Linked DNA regions of Homo sapiens: region 1 is linked to region 2. Evidence: promoter capture Hi-C in 16 types of primary human blood cells and fetal thymus (Javierre and others, 2016). All regions are on one chromosome and are shown on one strand. The core of a region is centred on a gene start or on the middle of the fragment in contact, and the rest is flanking DNA. Distances in the headings are between cores, read along the strand shown. Region 1 holds the start of APLP2 (amyloid beta precursor like protein 2). Region 2 holds the start of THYN1 (thymocyte nuclear protein 1).

What was found. The method cuts DNA at HindIII sites, captures the fragments that hold promoters and counts their contacts. A CHiCAGO score of 5 or more calls a contact.
Region 1: a contact is called between a fragment that was not itself captured here and the fragment with the promoter of THYN1 in region 2, in 1 of 17 cell types (naive CD8 T cells). The highest score is 5.2, in naive CD8 T cells.

What each region holds. Positions count from the first base shown.
Region 1 is chr11:130,069,369-130,076,066 of GRCh38, forward strand. It overlaps APLP2 (amyloid beta precursor like protein 2), which reads left to right and starts at 526. Exons shown (of 17, transcript NM_001142276.2): 1 at 526-714. The coding sequence starts at 610. LOC107984432 (a long non-coding RNA gene) reads right to left here and starts at 281. Exons shown (of 2, transcript XR_001748444.2): 1 at 96-281. RefSeq lists an enhancer at 1-218 and silencers at 135-364, 755-884, 955-1,414. The HindIII fragment of the contact is 611 bases long and covers 1,968-2,578 here.
Region 2 is chr11:134,250,749-134,257,279 of GRCh38, forward strand. THYN1 (thymocyte nuclear protein 1) reads right to left here and starts at 2,604. Exons shown (of 7, transcript NM_014174.3): 1 at 2,092-2,604; 2 at 382-560. The coding sequence starts at 2,134. It overlaps ACAD8 (acyl-CoA dehydrogenase family member 8), which reads left to right and starts at 2,820. Exons shown (of 11, transcript NM_014384.3): 1 at 2,820-2,961; 2 at 5,800-5,900; 3 at 6,340-6,509. The coding sequence starts at 2,853. RefSeq lists an enhancer at 2,365-2,734. The HindIII fragment of the contact is 5,608 bases long and covers 913-6,520 here.

The DNA of each region.
Region 1 (6,698 bases), core at 1,023-3,522, 4.2 Mb before region 2:
CTGCCTCGGGGGACGGCCCTTGGCAGACCGTCCCGGACTCCTAATTCATCCTGTTTTTAATAAAACCATTTCCAGAATCAAAAAGAGGGCGGTACCCAAAGGAGTCTGAAGAATGCCCAGCAGGGGCAGGGGAGCGGGGCGTGCCCGTATCGGGAGGCTGAAGGCTGACGGACCAGCGCAGCAGGGACAGATAACCGCGCCGGGGGGCGGAGGCCAGAGCCAGCCCCGCGCCCACAGGGTTGCGGCCCCAGACCCGCCGCGCGCACGCCCCCGCGCCTGGCGGCCACAGGGTCCGGAGCGGGGGCGGGGCCATCCGCGGCCGGGGGCGGGGCCGGGCGGGGGGCGCGCGGTTGGACCGGGCGGGAGGAGCAGGCTCTTCCATCTCCTGATTGGGTCTGGACCGCAAGGGGGCGGGGTCTTGAGGGGTTCTGCGGGCCGGCATTGGGAGCCGCAGAAGGAGGGCGTGGTAATATGAAGTCAGTTCCGGTTGGTGTAAAACCCCCGGGGCGGCGGCGAACTGGCTTTAGATGCTTCTGGGTCGCGGTGTGCTAAGCGAGGAGTCCGAGTGTGTGAGCTTGAGAGCCGCGCGCTAGAGCGACCCGGCGAGGGATGGCGGCCACCGGGACCGCGGCCGCCGCAGCCACGGGCAGGCTCCTGCTTCTGCTGCTGGTGGGGCTCACGGCGCCTGCCTTGGCGCTGGCCGGCTACATCGAGGTGGGGACCGGGCGAACGCCGGAGAGTCGTCTCCTTCGCCCGCCGGAGGAGCGCGGACTGCGGGCGGGCAGCGGGGTCCGCGGCAGGGCGGGCCGGCGGTGCGGCGCCGGGGGTCCGGCTCTGCGGCGGGTCTGGCGCGCCCTCCCCCGCCCGTCCCTGCTTGGCGCAGTGCTTAGCGCTGGAGGTCGGGCTGCCTCAGCCGCCGCAGAGGCCAAATGAAAGGCGTCGGGGCTGCTGGGGGCGGCCGTCCGCCTCGGCCGACCCAGCCCCCAACCCGCCCGCGGCGCCGCCACCTCCTCCGGGGACCCAGTGCCCCCGGGCGCCCGCCCCGCCCTCCCCCGGGACAATGCCAGGGCGCTCCTCTCCCGCCGGAGTCCGCGGCTGGGCTTTCTCCAGGGGCGGCCCCGCGCGGACCCCGTACGCTCCCTCGCGCGGCACCGGGGCCTCGGCTCCGGGCCTCCCACCTGCGAGCGGCGGGCTTCGCCTTTGTTGCCAGGTGGACGCGGCCCCGGCCTTCGCGCGCGGCAGGGATGCTGCGAGCCCCGGGGGAGCTCCCGCGCCAGGCCGCCCGCTGCTCCCTCTGCCGCCTGGGGCCGGGTCGCGGACGCGCATTTTTTAAGTGGCGCTGTTTGCCTGCGTCCGTAGACCGAGGAAACCCGCTCTGGGTGCGTTGACCGCTTTCGTGAGGGTTTCAGTGAGTAGGGAAGGTGCCCGCGAAGGCGTGTAAACTGTTGGAAAAATCGTCCTCTTCGGGTGTCAGAATTCCATCAGTGGTTGTGCTTCGAGGTCGCACCCTGAGCATCCCCGCTGCGAGAAAGGCGAAGCGGCAGGGCCGGGGGTTGGGGAGGCCGCGGGAGGGGGCGGGGGCGGCGGGGTCCGCGGTGCGGGCCGGAGCGGGCAGCCTTGGAGGAGCCCTGCTGTGGCCGAGGGAGACGGCGAGCTTGATCTTTACTTCCCTTCTCGAAGTGGTGCTTGAACTGCTGGTCTGGAATGTGTAGTTCTGGTGTCGTTTATTTCTTCTCCCTCTTCGCTCTTTTAAAAATTACAACTGGTTTCTGCATACTTAGCTAATTTCAGAGAGACCTGAAGACTGGATTTGATTGGGCATTAATTGAGAGCTTTCTTTTAAAGACCTCAGGTTTAGAATATATTTACTTCTACAGAATGTTCAAGTATTTCCACGGGTAAAAATAAATCTAATAAAAAGCCTCTCTGATGGAACGGCTTAACACCTTTGTATTCATCCAGTTTAAAGCTTTGTGACTGTGAGGGTAAGAAAGGAGTTCAGCTTTAAAGAGAAATAGTTAACGTTTATCTACAGAGGATTTTGGATTGCGATTGTTTCAGTGTGTCCACACAATGGTCAGAGTTGTATCTGTGATCCCTGATATGTCGCATGAAAACAGCTAGGTGAGTGAGATGGGAAGAAAAAATAAAGGCTTTCGTATGGAAGATGGGACTTCACTAGTGGGTCGGGTGTCAGAAACCATCGTTCACACTCGCACTCCACTTCCCACTGCTATGACTAATTTGAGGCATTAGTGAATTCACAGTAGAAGACTCAGCAGTTTTAAAGAATTCGTTAATACTTGTGTAGCGGGAAAAAATAATATGAGAATTCATTGTTGTGTGTTAAATTTGATTGTTAGCCACAGCGTTGTTCAGTTGAAAAGTATGGTTGAAGAAAGTAGGAATTAAACATTTCTGAAAAATGGTTTTATGGTAACTCCTGTTCTTTGGAGCTGTATTTTTGCTCACACTTACTAAATGATCTTTCAAGGGGCCTTTTGTCAAGCTATCAGAATTTTATTCATATGAATATAATTTGATTTTGTTTATTTGCTGTCAGGCAAGGGACTGTCGAAGCTTAATTTAGATGAGAGTGGCCTAAATCAGGATGTCTTTGGGAAGGCCCTGATTGAGATTAGCGAAAGGGATTCTGGCCAAATCCCTGATCAAGTTGCTTGGCACAGAATTATTGATTGGCAAATCTTTAGTGTTGCTTGGTGTTGACTGAATTAATCTCTTACACCTGTTTAAAAAGAAAAAGCTCACCTCTGGACTCAGGGTCACTTCCTCTCTTAAATCCGAGACAAGTTCTCCTGTGTGCATGCTCCCATTTGGGACTGAGACAGTATTGTGCTGAAACCCCGCATACTGTGCAGTGGATGACTAGGCTCCTGAGAACCGGAACTTGAGTTTGTTCTGTCACATTTGAAAGAAAGAAGGCCATTTGATTGCCAGTTTTCTGGAAACTCAAACCCAAATTAAAGGATGTCAACTGAGGCAGAGTAGAGAAGGCTTTGTGTTGGTGTTTCTGACAGGTGGTATGGGAGATGTGTAATTGTACCTTGGAGAGAAACCTTGGTGTGCTTCTGATAGGAATATCGTCTTTTTTTTTTTTTTTTTTTTGATACGGAGTCTCGCTCTGTCCCAGGCTGGAGTGCAATGGTGGGATCTCTGGGCTCACTGCAACTTCCGCCTTCCGAGTTCAAGCGATTCTCCTGCCTCAGACTCCCAAGTAGCTGGGATTGCAGGCGCCTGCCACCACGCCCAGCTAATTTTTGTATTTTTAGTAGAGACAGGGTTTCACCATGTTGGCCAGGCTGGTCTGGAACACCTGATCTCAGGTGATCCACCTGCCTCGGCCTCCCAAAGTGCTGGGATTACAGGCGTGAGCCACAGCGCCCGGCCCGTTATTTTTATCATAACTATGTTTTAAAAATCTTTTGATAAATACGATAAACTTCAGTTTTATCAATTAGTTCCTCCTTTTGTAGAGGGAATTTGTTTTACCATCTAAAGCCAGGCTTTCCCAGGGTGTAGCCACAAGCCACATGTGGTTATTGAGTCTGTAGGGTGACTAGTGTGAATGAGGAGTGAATTTTTCATTTTATTTAATTTTAATTAATTTAAGTTTACATTTAAAATCTGATTCAGTGGTTGGAAAACTTTTAACTGAAATAATTTGGTTATGCGAATTTACTTTTAAACTGTACATTTTATGAAATCTAAATGTAGATCAAGTATTTCCTATGAAAATTTAGCTTCTGAATTGAGATGTACTGGAAGTGTAACATACACATCAGATTTTGAAGATTTAATACAGAAGAATTAAAATCTCAATTTTTGTATTGACTAAATTGAAACAATACTTTAGACATGGGCTAAATAAAACATTAAAATTAATTTCACTTGTTTCTTTTCACTCTAATATGGTTCCTAGAAAATTTAATACTATGTATGTGGCTCACATTGTATTTCTGTTAGATGGTGCTGATTTAAAATTTTGCTTAAAGTTGGTCCTGCATATGTTTTTATTAGCAGAATTTTTTAATATGTTCCTATATTTTTCCACATAAAGTCTTGCTGGAAGTTGGCCCAACATGCTCTTAAGTATTTTTGTTAGAACAATTTTGAATGTGTTGATTTTTAAACTTTTTCAATTAAAAATGTTTTACTTAGAAATAACTTTAATCACCAGGCGCGGTGGCTCACGCCTGTAATCCTAGCACTTTGGGAGGCCGAGGTGGGTGGATCACGAGGTCAGGAGTTCGAGACCAGCCTGAGCAACATGGTGAAACTCCGTCTCTACTAAAAATACAAAAATTAGCTGGGCGAGATGGCGTGCGCCTGTAATCCCAGCTACTCAGGAGGCTGAGGCAGGAGAATCTGGGAGGTGGAGGTTACAGTGAGCCGAGATCACACCACTGCACTCCAGCCTGGGCAACAGAGCGAGACTCCATCTCAAGAAAACAAGAATAAAAAAAAGAAATAACTTTAATCTTATAAAAAATGCAAAAATTGTACAATTTTCTTACCCTTTACTCAGATTCACCAATTGTTAACATTTCTTCTAGTCACATTTGCTTTACTACTGCATTTTTTGCCAAATTATTTGAGAGTAAGTTGCATACGTCGTCCCCCATCCCCTTTACCCCTGAGAACTTCAGTATATATTTTCTAAGAGCCAAAGACATTGTCTTACATAGGCTTAGTACAGCCATCAACCTAATGAAATTTAACATTGATACAATACTTGGATCTTATCTGCTGTCGGTTTTCTAGTTAGTTTGTTGACCCAATCATGTTCTTTATAGCATTTGAAAACATGTTTTGTTGTTGTTGTTGTTGTTTTGTTTTTCTTTTTTGAGTTGGAGTCTCACTCTGTCGCCCAGGCTGGAGTGCACTGGCATGATCTCGGCTTACTGCAACCTCCGTTTTTCAGGTTCAAGCGACTCTCCTGCCTCAGCCTCCAGAGTAGCTGGGACTACAGGAGCCCACCACCATGCCTGGCTCATTTTTATATTTTTAGTAGAGACAGGGTTTCACCATATTGGCCAGGCTGGTTCCAAACTTCTGACCTTGTGATCTGCCTGCCTTGGCCTTCCAAAGTGCTGGGATTACAGGCGTGAGCCTCCACACCTGGCCCCTTTCAAGATTGTTTAATTCTGTTTACCCTTACTAAATTTTGAGGCTTTTGGATTTTCTTTCTAAAATAACAGAAGAAGAATTCTATAGGTAGTACATATTCATTGTAAGAAATTTAAAAGTACAGATAACCAATAAGAAGTGAAAAATGACCTAAAATCTTATTCCCCAGGGAAACCTTACTGTAATATTGTATATACCCTTCTGTTAATAGATAGGTCATGTACATAAATTTTATAAAAATGGCACATACTGCATATTGAAGCCAGCACCTAACAATGATTATTTCGAATTATGCTAACATGAACTACTCAAAGAAAATAATGTTTTCCGTGTGACAAAAAGTAGGGGTAAATCTTTGTACAGTAATTGTAGTTTCCATGGAGGGGCCAGTTGAGAGAGAATTCTAAATTGCCTATAATTCAATTTTCATGGGTTGATTTTTAATGAGATAAACTAGATTACCTTGAAGTTTAATTAAATTTAGTGTATTGTACCTTGATTTATGGCCTAAGATGGAAAGTGGACTATGTAGGCACATTCAAGCAGAAATGAGTTCCAGTCCTTTGTGTCAAGTACAACTAATAATTGCTTTTGCTGAGGGAATTTTTCTTACCTAAGCATCGTGAAGTCTTTATTTTTATTTTTTATTTTTTGAGACAGGGTCTCACTCTTACCAAGGCTGGAGTGCAGTGGCGCAGCCATGGCTCACTGCGGCCTCAAACTCCTGGGCTCAAGTGATCCTCCTGCCTCAGCCTCCCGAGTATCTAGGAGTACAGTGCATACCACCACATTCGGCCAAGATCTGTTTTTCAAAATGAGATCTTTTAAAACATAACTAATCTATTTTTTTAAAGATGAAGATTAGAAAATTAGCTGACTTTCATTTGTAATTCATCCTACTAGTATTTATTAAACCTGTTACATGGTTCTGTGCTAGATGCTAAACAGTACAGTAGTAAAACCAAATGTGGATAGTGCTTTTTACTTTGCGAAACACACTCGTGTATGATTTCTAGGCCCTAACCCCAGAGATTGTCGTTGAGTACCTCTGGGATGCTCAGTTTCAAAAGCTCCCCGGATGATTCTAATGTGCAAGGAGAGAAAAACAAAACAAAGTCTTTGGGTAATTTATCTCCATAAGTCCCTAACAGTCTCGTGAATTTGGTATTCTTATCCCTACCTAAAAAGGGAGTCAGTAGAGGCCGAGGGTTGAACATCACCCAGCTCGACCAGGGGAAGGAGTCTGCCCATCCTATCTAAGCCTACTGCTCTGTCCTGTCAGTGTGGTTCATATTTCCCTTTTGGATGCAGATTTCTTTTTACTCATGTCTACCTGTCTTTCCCATTACCAAAACCTGGTATGAGTGTTTCCCTTAAAAGGAACTAATTTCATACAAGTTGTGATATATTATGAACCATTGTAAACCATATGGTTAATAGTGACCCTTTGAAGTATGTAATTACAGGGGACTTTGATGTTTTACATTTTCCATTGATTTATTTTTTTCTTTCGCATCATTCAAATGATATTCACTGATTTTTAAAAACTT
Region 2 (6,531 bases), core at 1,354-3,853:
CAGACTATAGCCTTCAGGACAAATCTAACCCCATGCTGGATTTTGTGAATAAAGTTGAACTTGAACACAGCCACAGCTGTTTACTTATTATCTGTGGCCACTCTCTTGCTACAAGGGCAGGGTTGCAACAGAGACTGTAACACGCACAAGCCTACAAAATTTACTATCTGGCCCTTTGTGGCAAAGGTTAGCCAACCCCTGCCCTAGATACACAGGTTCACAAACCAGCTGATGATAATAAACCCTGCCGATTTTATTCATTTTTACCTTTTTCCTTCCCTTCAAAGATAAGAAGCTGGGGATGGAACCCTATGGTGTCCCATATTCACTTCTCATTTAAAAAACACCATGAAGGGACTGGAGACAGGTCAAGGGTCTCACCTTCACATCTACACCTTTCTCTAGGCGGCTCTCTGGCTCTGACTTCATCAGCCAGTGGCTGCTTAGATTCTTCAAACAGTTTTTAGTGGCTGAAGTCTTCTGAGGGTTGGAGTCCTCCACTTTAGCTAATGCCTCACCTGAGTTCTCAGTTTTGGTGCGTTTTCCTGATAGTCCCTTGTCTGCAATAGGAGAAGCAAAAAGAAAAGATCATGCTTGTTAAAGGCAATGTTTCATAATGGAAAAAGCTTAGCTTTGGAGTCAGACCTGGATTCAAATCATGGATCCATTACCAGCTGTAGGAACTTAATCTTACTGTTAAGAAGCTTTCCTTATCTATAAAAATTAGACAAGAATACCTACCTTACAGGGTATCTTCTGGATTATCTATTCAATAGGGTAAGAACACCTTACAGGGTTGTTCAGGATTAAAGGTCCGGACAGTAGTCAATACATGTTTTCCTTTCCTCACTCTCTCTTCTATGCCTTTGCATAGGAAAGAGGAAACTGAGCACCTACTTGCAACTATTTTGAAGCTTAAATGAGGTAATACAAAGGGCCTAGACAATGCCTGGCATTACAATAAGTGCATAATAAAAGCATTATTATTCTCATCTCATACGTCTTTCCTTCTTGCTCACTGTGGCTCCTGGCCCATCTCCTTTCTGCTCCTTGAAGGTGCCAATAAAAGTTGAAAGAAACAGTTCATTCAGGACATTGTAGAAAAATGGTGATGATTCGATTTCATCCCAAGACAATCAGAATGTGCCTGGAACACAGTAGGCATTCAGTAGCTAAGTTGTTAAATTACTATATGACAGGGCCCAAGGTCTATGTGTTACCCTAACCCTAACTCGGTTAATCTACATAACCTGTGAGATGTTCTACTCTTCATCTGGGAAGCATGCTCCAGATCACACATCCAGTAATGGTGGAATCAAGATATGAGGTCAGCACCTGTCACTGAGGTCTATCTGAAGCTACTTAATGACTATACTGCCTCTGAATTTAGTCAAAGTCCCTACATCAATTGTCATTAAATACCATTTATGGCTGTCTAATGCTCTGAACCCAGCATACCTTCCTAACCTAGTTTCCTAATGGCCCCTTAGGAGTTAACAGGCCCACTGCAAACACCACATATTGATAAATAACTGCAATGTGCTGTAGTATATCTGGAACCCCTGTCATTCCCAAAAGAGGTACTTTCTGTACCTTCCAATGTTCCTCCTCCTCCATCCACTTAGAATGCCATCCATCTTTGTGATTATAAAAACGACATCACGTTTTCTTAGTACTAAACTTTGCCCGTGGAAAGTCTCCCATTCTTCAAGGCTGGGCTCAAATTCCACATCCTTCTCGAGGCCTTCCCCGTGATTCCTCCCTCCATAAACTTAACAATCCATTTTCCTGAACCCCATCACATCTGTTTGCAGTTCACCCGCAAGCAGGCGCTTTATATTCTTTAGCACGCCACCTGGTATCTCAAAGAGTCTTTGTGCACAACAACCATTGCCTGAATAAACAAGAAAAAGGAACTGTAGGTAGGAGCTTGGTGAGACAAGTAAAGAAGATGGAGAGTGATTAAGGATAATGGAGTAAAAATATCACAAAGGGTTCTCAAAAAGCAGGGAGTGAAAAATGAGTACTAAACAGGCTCTTCGAGAAAAGTTTTTTCTTGGGCTGCCTTTGTGCAGCCTAGGGGCAGCTCACCTGAACCAGAAGTCCCAGCCAGCCTCTTCCGGGGTCTCGACATGGTCACGCTGCAGGGGACTTTAGTGCGGACGATTCTGGAATCAACGGAGATACAAGAAAGAATGCTAATGTCCTCCAAAACCCGCGCAGAGCGAGATGGAGGCAACGAGAGGCAGCCTAGAACGTCTCCAACTTTTGCGAAACACAGACGCCTACGTTTGAGCCCTCAAATCCTTCCCTCCGTTATCTGCGCCATTTCCATCTCGCATAACCTGCCCCTAAACTCTTCTCGGTTCTGTCCTTGGTCCTTCTCATCCAGGAACCCCTATCTCAGTATGTAGTTCACTGGGAAGTGGCTCCACAGAGACACTTTTGTTGGGTGAATATAAGTAAGCCTTGTGTTACCTTGTTATCCTTGCTAATTAGGATCAACTGAATGGATAATCTAGATGATGAAGTAATTTGCTGGCTACAGACCCAACACTCTGCAGACTCGACTGCGGTCCGCCTCCGCTGCGCCGCAGGCTGTGCAGCGCGACCCCCGCGGCGCTTGGTGGGCGGTGCATCTCTGCGGCGCCGAGGCCCCGAGGACTTCTGGGAATTGTAGTCCTGTCCCCTTGGGAGCCCGCCTGGCACCTGGGTTGTTAGGGCTCGTGGGAGGACTACAACCCCCAGGGTGCAGTGGGACAGGCGTTGCCGGGTCGCAGGTCCCGCCAGTGCGAGCGCAACGGAGGTCGAAGGCGTTCAGACTCTTAGCTGAACGCGGAGCTGCGGCGGCTATGCTGTGGAGCGGCTGCCGGCGTTTCGGGGCGCGCCTCGGCTGCCTGCCCGGCGGTCTCCGGGTCCTCGTCCAGACCGGCCACCGGAGCTTGACCTCCTGCATCGACCGTAAGGATCTCCTGGCGGGCAGTAGGACAGGTGTCCAGAACCCCGGCGGACATATGTCCGCGAGGGGCTGCAGTCTCCCCGTTCCATCCAGTCACCCCGGCGTCAGCTCCCCTTCCGGCCAGTCACCCCCCCGGCCTGGCTCCCTACTCCGGCCGGTCACCCCCGGCCTGGCTGCCCCCTCCGGTCGGTCACCACCATCCGGGTCCCCATCTGGCCCGTCACCCCTGCCCGGGTCCTCCTCCGGCCGGTCACCCCCGCCCCGGTCCTCCTCCGGCCGGTCACCCCCGCCCCGGTCCTCCTCCGGCCGGTCACCCCCCGCAGGTTCCCCTCCGGCCGGTCATCCCCCCGCAGGTTCCCCTCCGGCCCGGGTCCTCCTGCGGCCGGTCACCCTCGGATGCTTAGAGAAGTGAAGAAACTTGGGGCTTGGTTGTTGTTGGGTTGGTTGGTTTTTAATCATAACAGTAGGTCATAAAAGCAGTGAGAATATAAGAAGCTGGCTGGGTGCTGATGGTGACAACTGCACAAGAACTCCAGGTCATACAAGATTTGCTCACACACAAAGATTTGGTATCTTAACACCTCTGGCTATAAGACACTTTTAGTGTTGAAACTCATGCAGGAAAAATAATTATTATTGCCAGTGGGAAACTCTACCAGAGCTGACAAACTTGAGTGTCTTTAGGCTCTGAACAGTAATTTGAATGTAGCGAGGAGTGGTGGAGACCCGGCCAGTTTGTGACTTCTCTGCCAAGAATGTTTATAAACACTTTTTTCTTCTGAAATATTTTTAAATTTATTTTAAATAAATGGCAGTTTTCTTTACAACAGAATAAGTCCCTTAGATATCAGATCTATAAAGTACAGTAAGGCATAGAATACTGTTTTCTTCTGAATGTCCTAAAACTCATTCAAGAGGTGCTGCCCTGGCCTAGCGCTTAGAATTTGATAACCCAGATTACCCTGGTTGATACCGAAGCAGATAAGGAATTATTTAGAGGTGGGTTTTGTTATTGTTTGCATCTTGCTTACACTTGAGTGGCTCTGCAGTCAAAGGCTTTTCCCATTTCATTTGGAGTGTTTTTCTATTTAGCTTTACCTTTTTAGTGTATATGTATTGGCATCTTGAGCTCTGCTAGTAACTATGTATTGGCATCTTGAACTCTGCTAGTAACTGGCAAAGTTCATGAGTGGTGGTATTTGTTTTGTTTTTATACTGTATTTCCTTCTGGGAACTTGTGTTTACTTATGCATATGATTTGCATAAAACTATTTCCTTCCATTAGAATGCAACTCAGATTTATTTCTTAAGCCTGTGGTTCCTTGAACTATTTGTTTTAGGAAGTAGCCATTTACAGAAGAAGAAGATTTGTTAACATTTAATGAGCTCTTGCTAGGATTGAAATAGTCATCCTTTGTGTGAATGGATCTTATTTATTTATTTTTTTGAGATGGAGTCTCTTTCTGTTGCCCAGGCTGGAGTACAGTGGTGCGATCTCAACTCACCGCAACCTCTGCCCCACGGGTTCAAGCAATTCTTGTGCCTCAGCCTCCCAAGTAGCTGGGATTACAGCACATGCCACCATGCCCAGCTAATTTTTATATTTTTAGTAGAGACGGGGTTTCACCATGTTGGACAAGCTGGACTTGAACTCCTGACCTCAAGTGATCCACCTGCCTTGGCCTCCCCAAAGTCTGGGATTACAGGCATGAGCCACTGCGCCTGGCTGGATCATATTTATTTTTGTAACCCCAGCACTGCTACCTAGTAAACACCCAATAAACATTCTTTTGGAAATGATCTTTGAGCCATGGTCTACAGTAACAGCAACCCTTGTACAAAATTGTGTGAATAAATGGCCTGACCCCAGTCAGAGAACCATGAATTGTTTATCCCTAACTCTGTTCCTGAGGGTAATACCCAACATAGGTTTCTGCTCTGAGTTTCTCAAGGCAGCCTAATCGTTAATCCTCAGAACTCTTCATTTCTGACTTTCCCATTTTAATGAGAGTACTGATCACAGAAAGCAGTGCCCTCTCCAGGCTCGCATAGCCAGCCATTACTGATGCCCAGATTTGCCCCAAGGAACAGACTCTGGCACCTGCCCTTGTGTTCTTCTGTGAGGACTGCATCGCTTGTAGGCACTGAAGTAAATTATTGCCAAGTGTGGCGCCATAGTCTTCCCATAGTGCTCTTTTTTCTTTTTTTCTTCTTTTGAAACAGAGTCTTGCTCTGTCACCCAGGCTAGAGTGCAATGGCACAATCTCAGCTCACTGCAACCTCTGCCTCCTGGGTTCAAGCGATTCTCCTGTCTCACCCTCCCAAAGTAGCTGGGATTACAGGCATGCGCCACCACACCCAGCTAATTTTTGTATTTTTAGTAGAGGCGGGGTTTTTCCATGTTGGTCAGGCTGGTCTTGAGCTCCTGACCTCAGGTGATCTGCCCGCCTCGGCCTCCTGAAGTGCTGGGATTATAGGCGTGAACCATCACGCCCAGCCCATAGTGCTCTTCAGTGTCAGTTATAATGACCAAAGTTCTAGCACTGTGGCCTCAACCTCTAGGTCTACAACTGCATTTTACTAAGTGCTAGGATAAGAGATGTCTGGAAGTCCCCTATCCTGTTCTAGGTTGATCTGGATGTGTGCTAGAACTGTCCTTTCTCCATATGACAAGTGGAATAACGACAGAAGCTGCCATTCTCTAGCTGTTAAAGGCTATACCGTGTATGGGAAATACTACAGTAGATCCACTTTCACAACTTCGTGGTGCTTCTTGTTGGCAACACCTTGTTGGCAACACTGACCCTGTCCTAGAACAGTATATGCAATCCTGCCCACAGCTTCCATGGGACTTAATGAAGAGCAGAAAGAATTTCAAAAAGTGGCCTTTGACTTTGCTGCCCGAGAGATGGCTCCAAATATGGCAGAGTGGGACCAGAAGGTAGGCGTTTTTCTTGTGCTTAGACGTTCTAACAACAGATGTCTCAGGCAGACCTTTATCTTTGTCTCCTGATAATGTAATTGTTAAATGTCTCCTCCACTTACCAACTCTTACTGCAAGTGAGAATACCGGTAGTGGATGATTTTTCCTAGAAGGCATCCTGATCATCTTGTACATAACTTTTTTTTTGTTAGTTGAATAAAGATTTGGATATAAAACTAAGGCAGTTCTATAGATAATAAAAAGAAACTTCTTAATGCCAGAACAAGTTTTTACAGGACCCATGTTAACTGATAACCACTGTAAGATGACAAACAGGCATATTAAGAGAATTCATACGCTGTCGCATGTGCAAGCCTCCTAATCCCTCACTGTGCCCTCTAAAAGGAAGGCCGTCTCTGAATCAGCTGCTGATCACCCTGCTCTCTTTTGTACATAGGAGCTGTTCCCAGTGGATGTGATGCGGAAGGCAGCCCAGCTAGGCTTCGGAGGGGTCTACATACAAACAGATGTGGGCGGGTCTGGGCTGTCACGTCTTGATACCTCTGTCATTTTTGAAGCCTTGGCTACAGGCTGCACCAGCACCACAGCCTATATAAGCATCCACAAGTGAGTGCCCAAGCTTGGAAGG